Linked DNA regions of Homo sapiens: region 2 is linked to region 1. The links are contacts of gene promoters, found by promoter capture Hi-C in human tissues and cell types (Jung and others, 2019). All regions are on one chromosome and are shown on one strand. The core of a region is centred on a gene start or on the middle of the fragment in contact, and the rest is flanking DNA. Distances in the headings are between cores, read along the strand shown. Region 1 holds the start of C16orf78 (chromosome 16 open reading frame 78). Region 2 overlaps LOC105371244 (a long non-coding RNA gene).

Evidence for each region. Contacts are between HindIII fragments. The study calls those that stand out against the background at their distance.
Region 2: a fragment that was not itself captured here is called in contact with the fragment with the promoter of C16orf78 in region 1 in 1 of the 25 tissues and cell types used here (pancreas).

Annotation. Positions count from the first base shown.
Region 1 is chr16:49,370,166-49,376,615 of GRCh38, forward strand. C16orf78 (chromosome 16 open reading frame 78) reads left to right here and starts at 3,639. Exons shown (of 5, transcript NM_144602.4): 1 at 3,639-3,924. The coding sequence starts at 3,775. LOC105371244 (a long non-coding RNA gene) reads right to left here. Exons shown (of 8, transcript XR_001752167.2): 8 at 2,159-4,765. RefSeq lists enhancers at 3,092-3,822, 3,823-4,553. The HindIII fragment of the contact is 5,141 bases long and covers 309-5,449 here.
Region 2 is chr16:49,407,818-49,414,267 of GRCh38, forward strand. LOC105371244 (a long non-coding RNA gene) reads right to left here. Exons shown (of 8, transcript XR_001752167.2): 4 at 3,591-3,766; 5 at 3,000-3,054; 6 at 2,854-2,883; 7 at 1,532-1,648. Among named protein-coding and RNA genes, the nearest start is that of C16orf78, 37 kb to the left of the region's middle. The HindIII fragment of the contact is 7,810 bases long and covers 1-6,450 here.

The DNA of each region.
Region 1 (6,450 bases), core at 2,389-4,888:
TAGGCTGCTTCTAAAATGGCTCCTATAAATGCTGTCCTCGGTATTAGCACCCTGTGTAATCCCCTCATGTTGGGTGAAGCTGACATAGTGACTTGCTTCCAAAAAATCACATGCTAATATGGCAAAAATGGTGGATGTCATTTCCAAGGTTAGACTGACTTCTGCCTTGCTCTCACTCTCTCTCTGGTTCTTCCCCCTTCCTGTGCTGATGAAGCAAGCTGCATGTCATGAGCTATCCTATGAAGAGGCACATGTTACAAGGAACAAAGGGTGTAACATGTGACAAAGAAGGGATGTTCTCTGTTCAATGGCCTGCAAGGAACCCAATCCTGCCATCAATCACATGAGGGGTGTGGAGGCAGATCCTTCCCCTGTCAAACCTTCAGATGACTGCAACCTGGCCACCACCTTGATTGTTGCCTGGGCCAGAGAACCCAGCTAATGCACACCCAGATTCCCGACCCACAAAAACTGTAAAATCTTTCTCTTGTTTTAAGCCACCAAACTTAAACATTAAACAGCAATAAGATAACTGATACAGCTCCCATACTCACATGTAGATTCATCAGCAGATGTCAGATGACTTTACTTGTTTAAGGTGGTTCAGCACAATCTCTGTCCAATTAGATATGCAGACACAGAGATAATGCTTAGGAAGCTAGCCTTAAATATTTTTAAAAAGCAAGAATGTAAGAAATTTCATCAGAAATTTCAGCAGCTTCACACAACAGAGAAGACAAGATTCCCAGATAGCAATTTCATGATTCACAATAAACCATGGAGTGGGGGAAATCAGAATCCAAAGTTGCTGTAATTTTTTTAATTGGCAAATAAAACTGTATATATTAGTGGTGTACAACATAATGATACATTATGGAACAGCTACATCAAGATAATTAACATATTCATGACATATCAATTAACATATCCATTGCAATATTTTCAATGCCCAGTTTTCAACAGAAAATTACAAGATATGCAAAGAAACAGGAAAGTGTGACATATACTGAGGAAAATAGCAGATAGTAGAACTTGTCTCTGAGTTTTCCTAGATTCTGTATTTAGCAAAGATTTCAAATAGCTACTCTAAATATGCTCAAAGAACTGTTTAAATTTGTAAATAAAATTATGATAATAAACAATCAACAGAGAAAGATTCTAAATAAGGAGATAGAAATTATAAAGAAAGAAATGGAAATTCTGGTGTTGAAAAGCATAAATTACAATTTTACTGTGAAGATCTATTACAACAGATTATATATGGCAGAGGAAGAGATCAATGAACTCGAAGATAGAGTGATAGAAAGTATCTATCTGAGGAAGACAGAGAAAAAAAATGTTTGAAGTAAAAGGAACAGAACCATAGGGGCCAGTGGGACAACATCAAGCCAACAGATGTATAATGAGAAAACCAGAAGTAGAAAATAAAAAGGAAGGAGCAGAAAACATATGGAAAAACCAGTGGCCAAAAACTTTCAGAATTTGACTTAAAAAAAAATTAAATACACATCCAAAATGTTCAATAAACCTCAAGTAGGATAAATATGTAGAGATCCACACCTAGACAAATCATAGGCAAGCAGTCAGAAGACAGAAAGAAATAGAAAAACAAGCAAGAGAAAAATGACTTATTACTACAAGAGGCAAAAATGCAGTTAACAGCTGGCTTCCCATATAAAACAATAGAGGGCAAAAAGCAATCAAATGAAAAAACTGTTAACCAAGAGTTCCATTATCCAGAAAATCTTTCTTCAAGAATGAAGGTAAAATAAAGACATTACCATATAAACAAAGACAAAATAATTCATTATTTCTAAAATCTTACAAATATATTGCAAAATTAATAAATCCAGATGTAAAATATCACATGCATATTATTTGGTTTATATTTAACTCAATAACAGGAAGAAAAAGTTTGATATTGGATAATAAGGCCGGACACGGTGGCTCACGCCTGTAATCCCAGCACTTTGTGAGGCCGAGACAGGTGGATCACGAGGTCAGGAGTTCAAGACCAGCCTGGCCAACATGGTGAAACCCCGTCTCTACTAAAAATACAAAAATTACAGTGCGCCTGTAATCCCAGCTACTCAGGAGGCTGAGGCAGGAGAATCGCTTGAACCTGGGGGACGGAGGTTGCAGTAAGCCGACTCTAGCCTGGGTGACAGAGCGAGACTCTGTCTCAAAAAAAAAAAAAAAGAAATTGGATGATAAGATGATGTTTACCCTTGGAGGGTGGTAATAACTACCAGGGGCTGTATGGAAGATTCTGGGGTACTGGTTACATAGATGTCTTCATTTGTGATTCTGGCACATTTTTGTATATATAATTTCCTTCAATAGAAGTTTACTAGAGCAAAAAAGGGAAGCCTGACCATGCCACTCCCTCCCCTTTTTTTGAATTCCTTTATTGTTTTCCTTTGCTCCCTTTCCCTTCCCAGTCTGAGCAGAACCTGTGGCTACCAAGTTCCTGGATGGCCTGGCCTCTGGCCACCTCTGTACCATTGCCTCTTTGCCTCTGGTACTCTAGTCACCCTTGCCTTCTGTTGTTAGTGCCATGCCTCCCGCTTGTCACAGGGCCTTTGCACAGGCATATTTCTCTGGTCCAAAGCCCTTATCTTAATCCATTTGGGCCTATGACAAAATACCACAAAGTGGGTAGCTTATAAACAACAAACATTCATTTATCACATTTTTGAAGCCTAGGAAATCCAAAATTAAGGCTCTGACAGATTCCGTTGTCTGCTGAACCCATTTCCTGGTGACACCTTCTCACTACATCTTCACATGGTGGAGCTCTCTCTAGTCTCTTCTGCAAGGGCACCAATTCCAATCATGAGAGAACTGCTCTCATGACCTAATTACCTCCCAAGACCCCACCTTTTAATGCCATCACCTTGGGGGTTAGGATTTCAGCACATGAATTTTGGAGGGACAGAAATGTCCAGACCATAACAGCCCTGTTGAAGTCTATTTATCCTTTAGCTCAGAGCTCAAAGGTGGCCTACCCACCACCCCATCCAAGTCTAGTACCATTGATATGGCCTTTCATAGAACTACATTCCTTTCTTTGAAAGCACTCATCTTCACTTGTCATTATGAATTCATACGGTAATTATCTGCCCTGTCTTTTCCACTAGCCCATATGTCTTAGGAGGTTTGCCTATGTTTTTTTCCTGCATTGTATCCCCAGCACCATTCCCAATACTTAGTAGGTGCCTGATAACCACATGTTGGATGAATAAATGAATATAGACGAATTGGGCTTATAAAAAGCTTTCTTCTAATTAGAGTACACTACAGAAAGATAGGATGCCAAACTAAAGAATTCAGATTTCTTTTAGATAGGCAACAAGGAGCCATTGAAGGTTTTTGAGAAAGGAAGATGCGTGGACAGACCTTTATTTTATTAAGATCTCTGTGGAGGTAGAGGTGGAGAGGCTGCAAGGAGGCTGTGGCAGAGTCCAGAGGAGACATAGCGCCTGAAGAGGGGTAGTGGCCACATGGAGAACAGTGGGAGGTGGCCAATGTCCCACCTCCACTCTGACCTCAGGGCCAGCTACCAAGACGGGCAATGACTTCACAATCACTGCCCAGGCCTTCCACCTTTTAAGGCCAATATCCCAGGGTCTTGGCTCACTCTGCCCTTTATGTTCACATCTGGAGGCCACACCCTACCTTCTAAGTCACCAGGCCATCAAGTCCAGACAAAGGGATCGAAAGAGTGAGACAGTGCCAGCCACCTCCCACCCAAGCCACTAGCAAGACTCCACAATGTCAGAGCAACAAATGGACCTGAAGGATTTAATGCCCACAAAGAGGAAATACATGTGGAAGACTGCTGAAGATAGGCGCATGTCTGACCTCACCTGTGTGCTGGAGTGGCTGGAGCGGAGGCAGGGGAAGAAGAAACAAGCTCCCGAGGTGGGTACCATCCAAGAGAAATGGCAGGAAGACTTTACTCAAGGTAGTTGCAGTAGGGGAGAGAGATTGAACTTAACTCTCCTGAAACAAAAGGCGGGATGGTTTTGAAGTGCTGGGATAAGCTAGTGAGAACTACCCAAGGACATTAAGGGGGTGGGGGAATTAGTTAATATGATTAGGCTGTCTGTGTTGCTAATTCGCACTTATAAATGTTAGGCTCCCATCCTCTCACAGAGACTGAGAGACAAGGTACAATCTTTCTTGATGATTACATTTCAAAGGGTCCTCCCAGGTCCTTGAGAAAAACATTCCTGGATTGTAAAACTAGCAAGAGACTGAGAGATTTACATCTCAAAGGGGCAGAGAAAAAATTTACAAATCCAAGTTTTCTAGAGGAAATGCTCTAAGGAAAAGGAGGCCAAGGGCCTATCATCAGGAAGAAACCTGTCTAAAGTTTAGTCAAGCTGGGCAAATGTTAGTATTGGTCAGAATTCTAGAAGGGCCAAGGGGCAGTGGCTTCTGGGTCTCCATATTGCAGGATGGGATCCTCCTACTGCCCTCAGCTCTTCTCTCCTTGTGATGCCTTCAGAATCAAAGAACATTCATTCCTCACTGCCATTACTGCAACTGCAACTCCAGCTAACATACCTCCTCTTTTCTACCCTACATCGAGCTAGTTCTAACCCACCCTTTCCTCTTTCTCCAAGAAATGTAGCAACCAAGTTTGCCTTAGTTTTTCCCAGAGCTCCCCCAAGACCTATCATCTATGAAGAACCAAGCCATGTCTTTGGAAAGTGGTGTCCTCTGCAGAAGATGCCACCTGGTCTTGAATCTCCTGACCCTAGAGCAAAATGAGTAAAAAATGCCATTACTAATAACAATGCTCAACACATCACTAACTTTTAATGTTTACTGTGGTCAAGGCCCTGTGCTTAGATTTGTACCTGGGTTATGTGGTCAATTGCTCCCAGTCAGGCTACCAGGGAGGCACCATTTTTACCCCTAGTTGAAGGATAAGGAAAGTGAAAATAAGTCATTTTATTGAAGTCACAGAAGTAATAAAGGGCAGAGCCAGGGCTCAAACTGAGGTTTTCCAATTCCCAAATGCATAGACTCCTCTGCTTTATCCAGGTCAGCACCTGCCTTTGGGGAAAGCTTCCATTATGTTTGTGTGCTTACTTACTGTATTAGTCCATTCTCATACTGCTACAAAGAAATACCTGAGACTGGGTCATTTATTTAAAAAAAAAATAAAAAAAAATGTTTAATTGGCTCATGGCTGTACAAGAAGCATAGGAGATTCCACTTCTGGGGAGGTCTCAGGAAGCTTACAATCATGGCAGAAGGCAAAAGAGGAGCAGGCACTTCACATGGCAAGAGCAAGAAGTGGGAGGACGAGGTGCCACACACACTTTTAAATGACTGGATCTCACGAGAACTCTCGCCTTCATGACAGTACCAAGGGGAATCGTGTTAAACCATGAGAAAGTGCCCCTATGATCTAATCACCTCCCACCAGGCCCCACCTCCAACACTGGAGATTACAACTTGACATGAGATTTGGGGAGAGACGCAGATCCAAACCATACCACTTACCATTTATAGTCAGAAAGATCTCGAGTGCCAATTCCATCAGACACATCTGACAAACATATTTTACTCTAAGGTGCTAATGATTTACAGATAGCCTACCCACTGCCTTGATTTGGGGGCGAAGGGGAAGCTTGACTTCTGGGTCTCTCCAAACTCAATTTAATATCATCACAGGAATTACATTCACTTCCCTGGTTAATATGTTCAGGTCTATCTCCTTTTACCAGGATAAGATTCTAATAATCACATTTTAACAACTTTACCTTAAATGTGGCTTTTATTGTAAATAACTTTGGACCTAGAGAGGGAGCAAGTTTACATGGGAAATATAATTAAGTCTTCAAGCATCATTACCTTTCCCAGAAGCATCTGGGCTTTTAAAGAAGCTTCTAAGAGGAAGATGATGTGTGCTGGCAGGTCTCCGACAGCAGCAGGTGATGGGGGACCCTCTGGTGAGATGGTTGGGGTCTATCTTCACCACTCAGGGCCCTCTGTGACCTCCTCTGTTCTCTCCTGGGGTCTGACCTGGCCATCCAGGCTCTTCCCCCAACAGACTGCTCATGGTATTTCCCCCTTGTGATCCATTTGGCATCAGCGAAGACCCCTGAGGTCTGAAGTCTCAGCCATGGAGGATGCTGAATCCTTGAATGTTGCAGTTTCCTTGAGTCTAAAGCATCGCCATGTCAATTCCGCTCAGCTTCCCCAAAATGGGGGCTGTGTGGGGAGCTACTCAGGTGACTCTTTGAGGGAGGCTGAGGATTGAGTGGGGGATGGTGGAAGGGGCTGCCCTGGAGGAGATGGGTCATCCTAGCTCCTCACAGCCTGAAAATGCAGCCTTGGCTCTGAGTTGCACTGTTTCTCCACTAAACCAAACAAAACCCTAAAGCTAACCAGCGTTACCTTCCTTAGAAGGCAACTTGCAACATGGAGCAG
Region 2 (6,450 bases), core at 2,378-4,877, 38 kb after region 1:
CTTTAGTTAAAAGTACATTTTAAAAAGAAATATACTAAGTGTTTTTTGTTTAAAAAAAAGTTCCGGTTTCGTTTGCTAAAAACAATAGGCTCCTCAATGGTGAAGCTATTCTAGTTCCTTCCACCTCCCAGAGGCAGAGGCTAAACCTAAGTCCCTTAAGGCCTGGCGCATGTCCTCCAGGTGTGCAATGACTGTGGCAGGGCGTGGCCTTGTGCAGCTGCTGGAGTAAATTTCTCCCCTTCCATTTCTTTCCCTCCTCTTGCCCTTCCCCTTCCCCTTCCCTTCCTGCGCCACCAGGTGGGGCTCTATCACAGCAGAAGGCTACTCTCCTGACGGTGTCCACGCTGTCTGGCCCGGCTGCTGGCAGAGCCGTCAGCCTATCCAAGGGGAAGCCGGGCCCTCGAGCCTAAGCCTCGGGTAGATGAACACAAGCCCAGCTACTCACTAACATCACTTTTCTGAGACTTCAATTCTTTTCCTCCAAATCGGGGCAAGAAATGCAAGTTAAAATAACCATGAGGTACCACTCTATGAGACTGAAACATGTTAGAAAGCTAGGGAAGGCCAATGTTGGCACAGACGTGGAAACGAAGGAAGCTTCATGCCTTGCAGTAGGAGTGTGGGCCACTGCAGCCGCTCTAGGTTAAATTACACATGGACACTGCAGGGACCTAGCAAGCAGCCCCACTCCTGGACGTATATTCCAAAGTTCTATCCCAGGAGATCTATTTAAGGACACTAGCACTGGCAGGAATGTCTGGGTGCTGGTGGATGGCAAAACAAGGTGAGTGAAAAAGATGGGAAACAGGATGAGAAGGGACACTCTAGTCTTAACACAAACTGAAAATACACACATACAACAACACACTGCTTACAAGAACACATGCAAATACATTCAGACAGCTGGAAAAGGATTGGGAAGGGAAGAAGGAAGAAATGAAGGAAGGAAGGGAGGAGAAATAAAATGTGAAAGAAAATACCAAGTTTCAAGTGTTGGCGTGAAAAGAAGAATCCAAGGGAAGTTTCAAGAGTCTCTAGCACTTAGCAGGCACCCAGGAAATTTTCATTTTCTACATGTGCCTTTAAGCACTAACATTTATTGAGTGCCTACTGTGTTTTAGGCAATGTGCCAGGCTTCGTAATACAGTAATGAACAAAGACCAAAAAATGAAAATTCCTGCCACTGTAGTAGCTTTGAGACTTATTCCACAAACTTGAGTATAGGAGAAATGGCAGAGCCCCCTAAATCAAATCACTAAAAATCTGATTTCATGCCCCTGTTGAGCTGGACTGGTGGAAATTCAATTTCCATCCCTTAGTGGGGCTCCGTCTCTTACACCCCCAAGGTCCTGGACAGAGCAATACCTTGGGGTAGGTGCCAACCTATACTGGTCACTGCTGAATTGCTGCAGGTCACAGCCCAAAAAGTTCACAAAGTCTCCACTCACAACAACCACTTCTCTACCCCCTACCCCCACCACTGCCATGCTTTCTTCTGAGGCTTATGCCTTCCTCTCACCCCAGTTCTCACCTCAAAGAGCATGGGCTTCCAGACCAACACAGGCAGGCTGTCTGCAGATCCCTTCAACTCCCTGCTTGGCAGCAGAACCTTTCTGTGGCAGGTAACTGAGCGCAAAGCTACTCTCCTCTGGGAAGGTGGGCAAGGGAGGGAGACAGAGAACAAAGGTCATCAATCTCAGGCTTTCAAAATCTTCTCCAAGACGATGAACAAAACACAAGTCAAAATCACAAGAAGCAGCCCTGACTTCATTCTTATTTCTAGGATTTTAATTTACCCAATATGCACTGGTTGAGCACTTACTGAATGACGTGTGTTCCAGGGCCTAATATGAGTGGTGTGGTTTCTGATGACATGTGAAGATGATGCTAGCAATGGCTGCACCTAACTTTGGCAAAAAAAGGAAAATATATGTGCATGTGTATATGTATGTATGTTTATATATGTATTGGTGCATGTGCATGTGGTGTGCATACGTGTGTGTTTATATGTATATATGTATATACGTATATGTGTGTGTGTGTTCCTACGTGTGTGTGCGTGATGTCAAGTAGCTTCTGGAAATCAGTCCAATCATTTCCTGGTCTAGTCTCTCTGGTTCAAGATACAAATTCCAGAAAGAGGGTCTCATTGTCCTCTCTAGGGTCAAGGCCCCCATCCCTTGGCCCAGGGAAGATGGAGCACCTAAAGTGCCAGTTCTACCAAGGCCACACACAGTGGACGAAGGGTAGTTTCTGAGGAGAACTGAGATACTTATTGGTTCTTTTGCTGGCTAATAATTTCTCCCCAAACAATAACAAATATGTATCATCCCACATGGTTCCTGTGGGTCAGGAACACAGTGGGGTAGCTGGGTCTGTGATGAGGTTGGTGTCAATCTGTCAGCAGAGCTGCAGTCATCCAAAGGACTGGCTGGGCTGGAGGATCCGTTTCCAAGGTGGCTTAGTCTCACAGCTGGCCAGCTGGTGCTGGCTGTTGGCTGAAGGTTTCAACACCTCTCCACATGGGCCTCTTCATGGGGCTACTTGAGTGTCCTGACAACATGGCGGTTGGCTTCGCCTGAGCAACCAGCCCAAAAGGGAACAGGGCAGAAGCTAGAGGGCCCTTGTTGCTGTCCCCTGGGAAGTCACACACCCTGCTGCATTGCCTCACTTCTGTAATGTCCTGTTAGTCACACAACTCAGCCCTGGTCAGTGTGGGAGGGAACAACACAAGGGTGTGGAGACCAGGAGCCAAGCATCACTGGGGGCCATGGTGAGGACTGGAGACCACAGGTGCCATTACAGAAGGAAGCAGACCTGGAGGCAAGGCAGGCAGGAATGACAGATACTGACCACAATGATGATGTCTTTGGAGCTCACAGTCTAGAGGAAGACAGAAGAAAACAATGCCCTCGTTAATTCATAATTACTCACCTAAGAACACCCTAGTAATGGGGGGAAAAAAAGAGGGTAGGACCCAAGAAGGGGCAGCAACTGACCTTCTCTGGAGGAGTCACAGGGGTACTTGCAGAGGTGGTGACATTTGCATTGGACCTTGTAGGGAAATAAAAGGTGGGATGAGGGCACCCCAGGCAAAGGCGGGAGATGGGAAGTGGGTGGAATCTAGCTTTGCTGAGTGGTTGAATGGGGACAGCACAGGAGAGTGGGCAGAAAAAGACTCTCAAGCTTCCCAAGCCCCACCTGCCTGTGGGGGACCTACTCCCAGGCCCTCCTCTGCTTCCTGCCCCCACAACTCAAGATCTCTGGCTGCCAAGGGAGAATGGGCCTGGTTTCTCTGCAACCAGGACCCATCTTCCCCAGTGAACTGGCCCTCTAGGAGGACAAGTTATGGGCCCTGCCCTTCTGGGAGAAAGGCCTGACTCCTGCTGGGCCCTGCCACCCACCCCAGCTGAGAGTCAGGGGACAGGGGAGTGGAGCTCTCTGTTTCCCGGAGTCACTGGGTCTTGGCCAGCCCCACCATTCCGTGCCCCTTTCTGGGATTGGTAACAGCCAGTCAGGGTCCTGCCATTGCACTTGGCCATTCCTGAGCTCCCCCAATCCCCTGCTACAACACACACACAAATTCCTACCCGCTCCAGGCCAGCTGGGATCAGCTTCAGCAGGGCCGGCTCGAGCCACTTTGCTTAAGGCATCAGCCTCCCCAGGGTGCATTAGGCAGGCTTCACTGGCCAGAGAAGGACCACCTTGTAGGGAAACGGGCTCCAGGGGTTCAAATCCCCAAAGGGAAGGGGCTGCCTGGCCCCAGCTGTAGAAACAACAAAGGAGTGCAGCACACAGTGGCCCCTCCCTCCTCACCCATGCAGGCAGTGATGCCACGCTGCATCCTAAATGTTCAAGGCCAGAGTCACGTGCATGCCTCCCATGGGCAGGGCTCAGTACCCAGGACCTCAGGCCCCCTCCCCACAGGGCCCCAGCAGTGGAGAGGCTGCCACCCTGGACCCAGGCAGGAGGGGAGGAGCAGCTGCCCACTCCCGGCATGCACCCTCTGGGCCCCGCACTGAACACCAGCCTGCTAGCATCCCCCAAACCAACCCGAATCCAAGATAAAATTCCCCCTGGCCCCCAAGCTCAGGAGGGCAGTCTGTGTCCCAGAGCCTTCAAAAGCTCCAGAAAAGTGAAACCTCTGCTTGAACAGCTCCCAGCCCTGCAGCAGAGAAAAGGGGAGAAATCACACCAATAATCACCACTGGCAGCGTTTGCCTCTGAGCTACAAAATGTTTTCACTTATTTTCCACCATCAGATGCCCACTGCAACTCTGCAAAAGGAAAGATTTTATCCTTATTTTACTGATGGGGAAGCTGATGCCCAGAGAAGGGAAGGGACCTGTCCAAGTGCACAGTTAGGAAGCTACCGAGCCAGCATTAAGCCAGGCATTTTGATGATAAACCTGGGTCCTCTTTAAATCACTCATTTACTCAAGCATTCAGTCAACTTGCAGCAAACATGCACTGAGCTCTTCCCACAGGACAAGGGATGGGCTCACCACCCCACTGCAATGATGAGCAAAGACAGACATGGTTCCATAAGTTTACAGCTTAGTTGGGGAAACAGTCCTTAAATAAGCCTTTAAAAATATGTAATTGCAAGTGAAAGAGCACTGTGAAGAAAAGAATGATTTAAGTCATTAAAAAAAAATCAGAGGAGGAGTGACTTCCCCCAAAGGGTAACCAGAAAAGAGTATTCTGAGGAGGTACTTTGAAACCATATCAAGGCACAGCAGAAATGAGTATCAGGATTGATTAATAATGTCTGCCATGGTCACTGGATTCAGAAGTGGTGGCATGCATGCCAGATACTTGTTTATCTGGTTTATGCCCTCACTAGGATCCTTGATATCCAAAAAGAACTAGACATAATTTTAATTCTCCTGGAATTCACCATGATGTAGAGTAGATAAACATTAGAGAAGAAGTCATAATACAAAACAGCTCATTGGCTTCATTAATAGAAAAATCAAGGAAGTAAAATACAGCCAGTGAGGGAGTAACTGGTACCCAATAGGGTGATGCTAGCAAGGCTTGGAGGACTCTTTCCATGGGACATGGGAGCTTGTTGAAAAGAAGGCCCTCCTTTTAAAGAGGAGAAGGCACTTAGCACCAGAGGATGTTGAGACATTTCTGTCTATGGCCTAAGTTGGGGAGACAGCTGGCTCCTGCTCTGACCTCCTCTACATTCCTAAGAATTCCAGGTACAGTCCCTGCCTGGAGATACTTCTCCACCAGCACTCAGAGCACCAGCCTCGCCTCAGACCCACCATGAGAACTGACCTTCTTCCATCAGTCCCCCTAGGCTCAGCATCCCATTAAGTGTCCCATCAAGGCAGCTTATGGCTCCTTTTGCCACTGCTGTAGGGCAGCCTGCTCAAAACCCACCAGATGTAAAACAGCAACCTTGAGAAGCAATTGTTAGGTCTATCGAAATATTCAGAGCAGCCTGCACTTAAACTGTCGTTGCACTTATTCTGACTGTAATCAGTCATTTCTGTGGCTCTTAATTCATTGTCTGTAAGTACCAAGACAATGGACTGGGTATAGGATACTCACCCCCAGATTCCCAGTGCCTGGCACACAGTGAGTGGGCCACTCAACAATTTTATTGAATGAATGAACTATTCTAGAAAAAAAAAAAGAGTTGGGACAACATAGAGAGGCTGATAGTTTGGGTCTTGCCCCAGGGGATAAGCAGGCCTCCAGGTTTCAGGGTGGTCAGCAGAGGGTGACAGCACTATGGTGGCAGTTTCTCTTGAGTTCTGCTCCTGAGCCTCAAGGATGGAAGATCTCCAAGAGAGGGTGGTGAACCATATCATGTGCACCCTCTGGTCCACAGCCTGGCCACTTCATGCTGTTTGGAAGAGGCCATTACTTTCTTATTGTGCCCACTCTGTTGGTCTTGTGCCATCTGCTGGCACCTACCAGGCAGAACCCTTGTTTTGAAAGAGTTAAAAAGTCCTCTTGGGAGAGTAGACTAGAAAGACAGTCAATGAGATGGATCAAAGGAACATAGAATTGGAACTTACAAGAGCTCAGTGAAGATGGGCTCAGAAGGCTCCTGGGAGTCAGGTTGTCCAGGATGAGCAGACCTCAGACAAGTAGACAGGAGAATCTTTGGATAAGGGGACCTCCATGGAGGAGGAAAGAATAATATGGGATCAGGGAGAAGATTGGTCCGGTGGGAGTAGGGTCTTGGGGAGGTGTGAGGACTGGGAAGAGAAGGCAAGGTAGAGCTAGCTCATGGCAGCCCTTGGCTCCTGGCTGAGAAGTTCAAAGTTGAGCCTGTGGGCACCAGGACGCAACCATGAACCTTCAAGAAAAGACGGTCTGAGCTGATTGTCTGGGGCTTTTGGGGGGTGATGGGCAGAAAACATATCTGTGCCTCCATGGCAGCCAGATTTTGTAGAAAAGGGGAGAAAGGCCCCAGGGAGCCAGCCA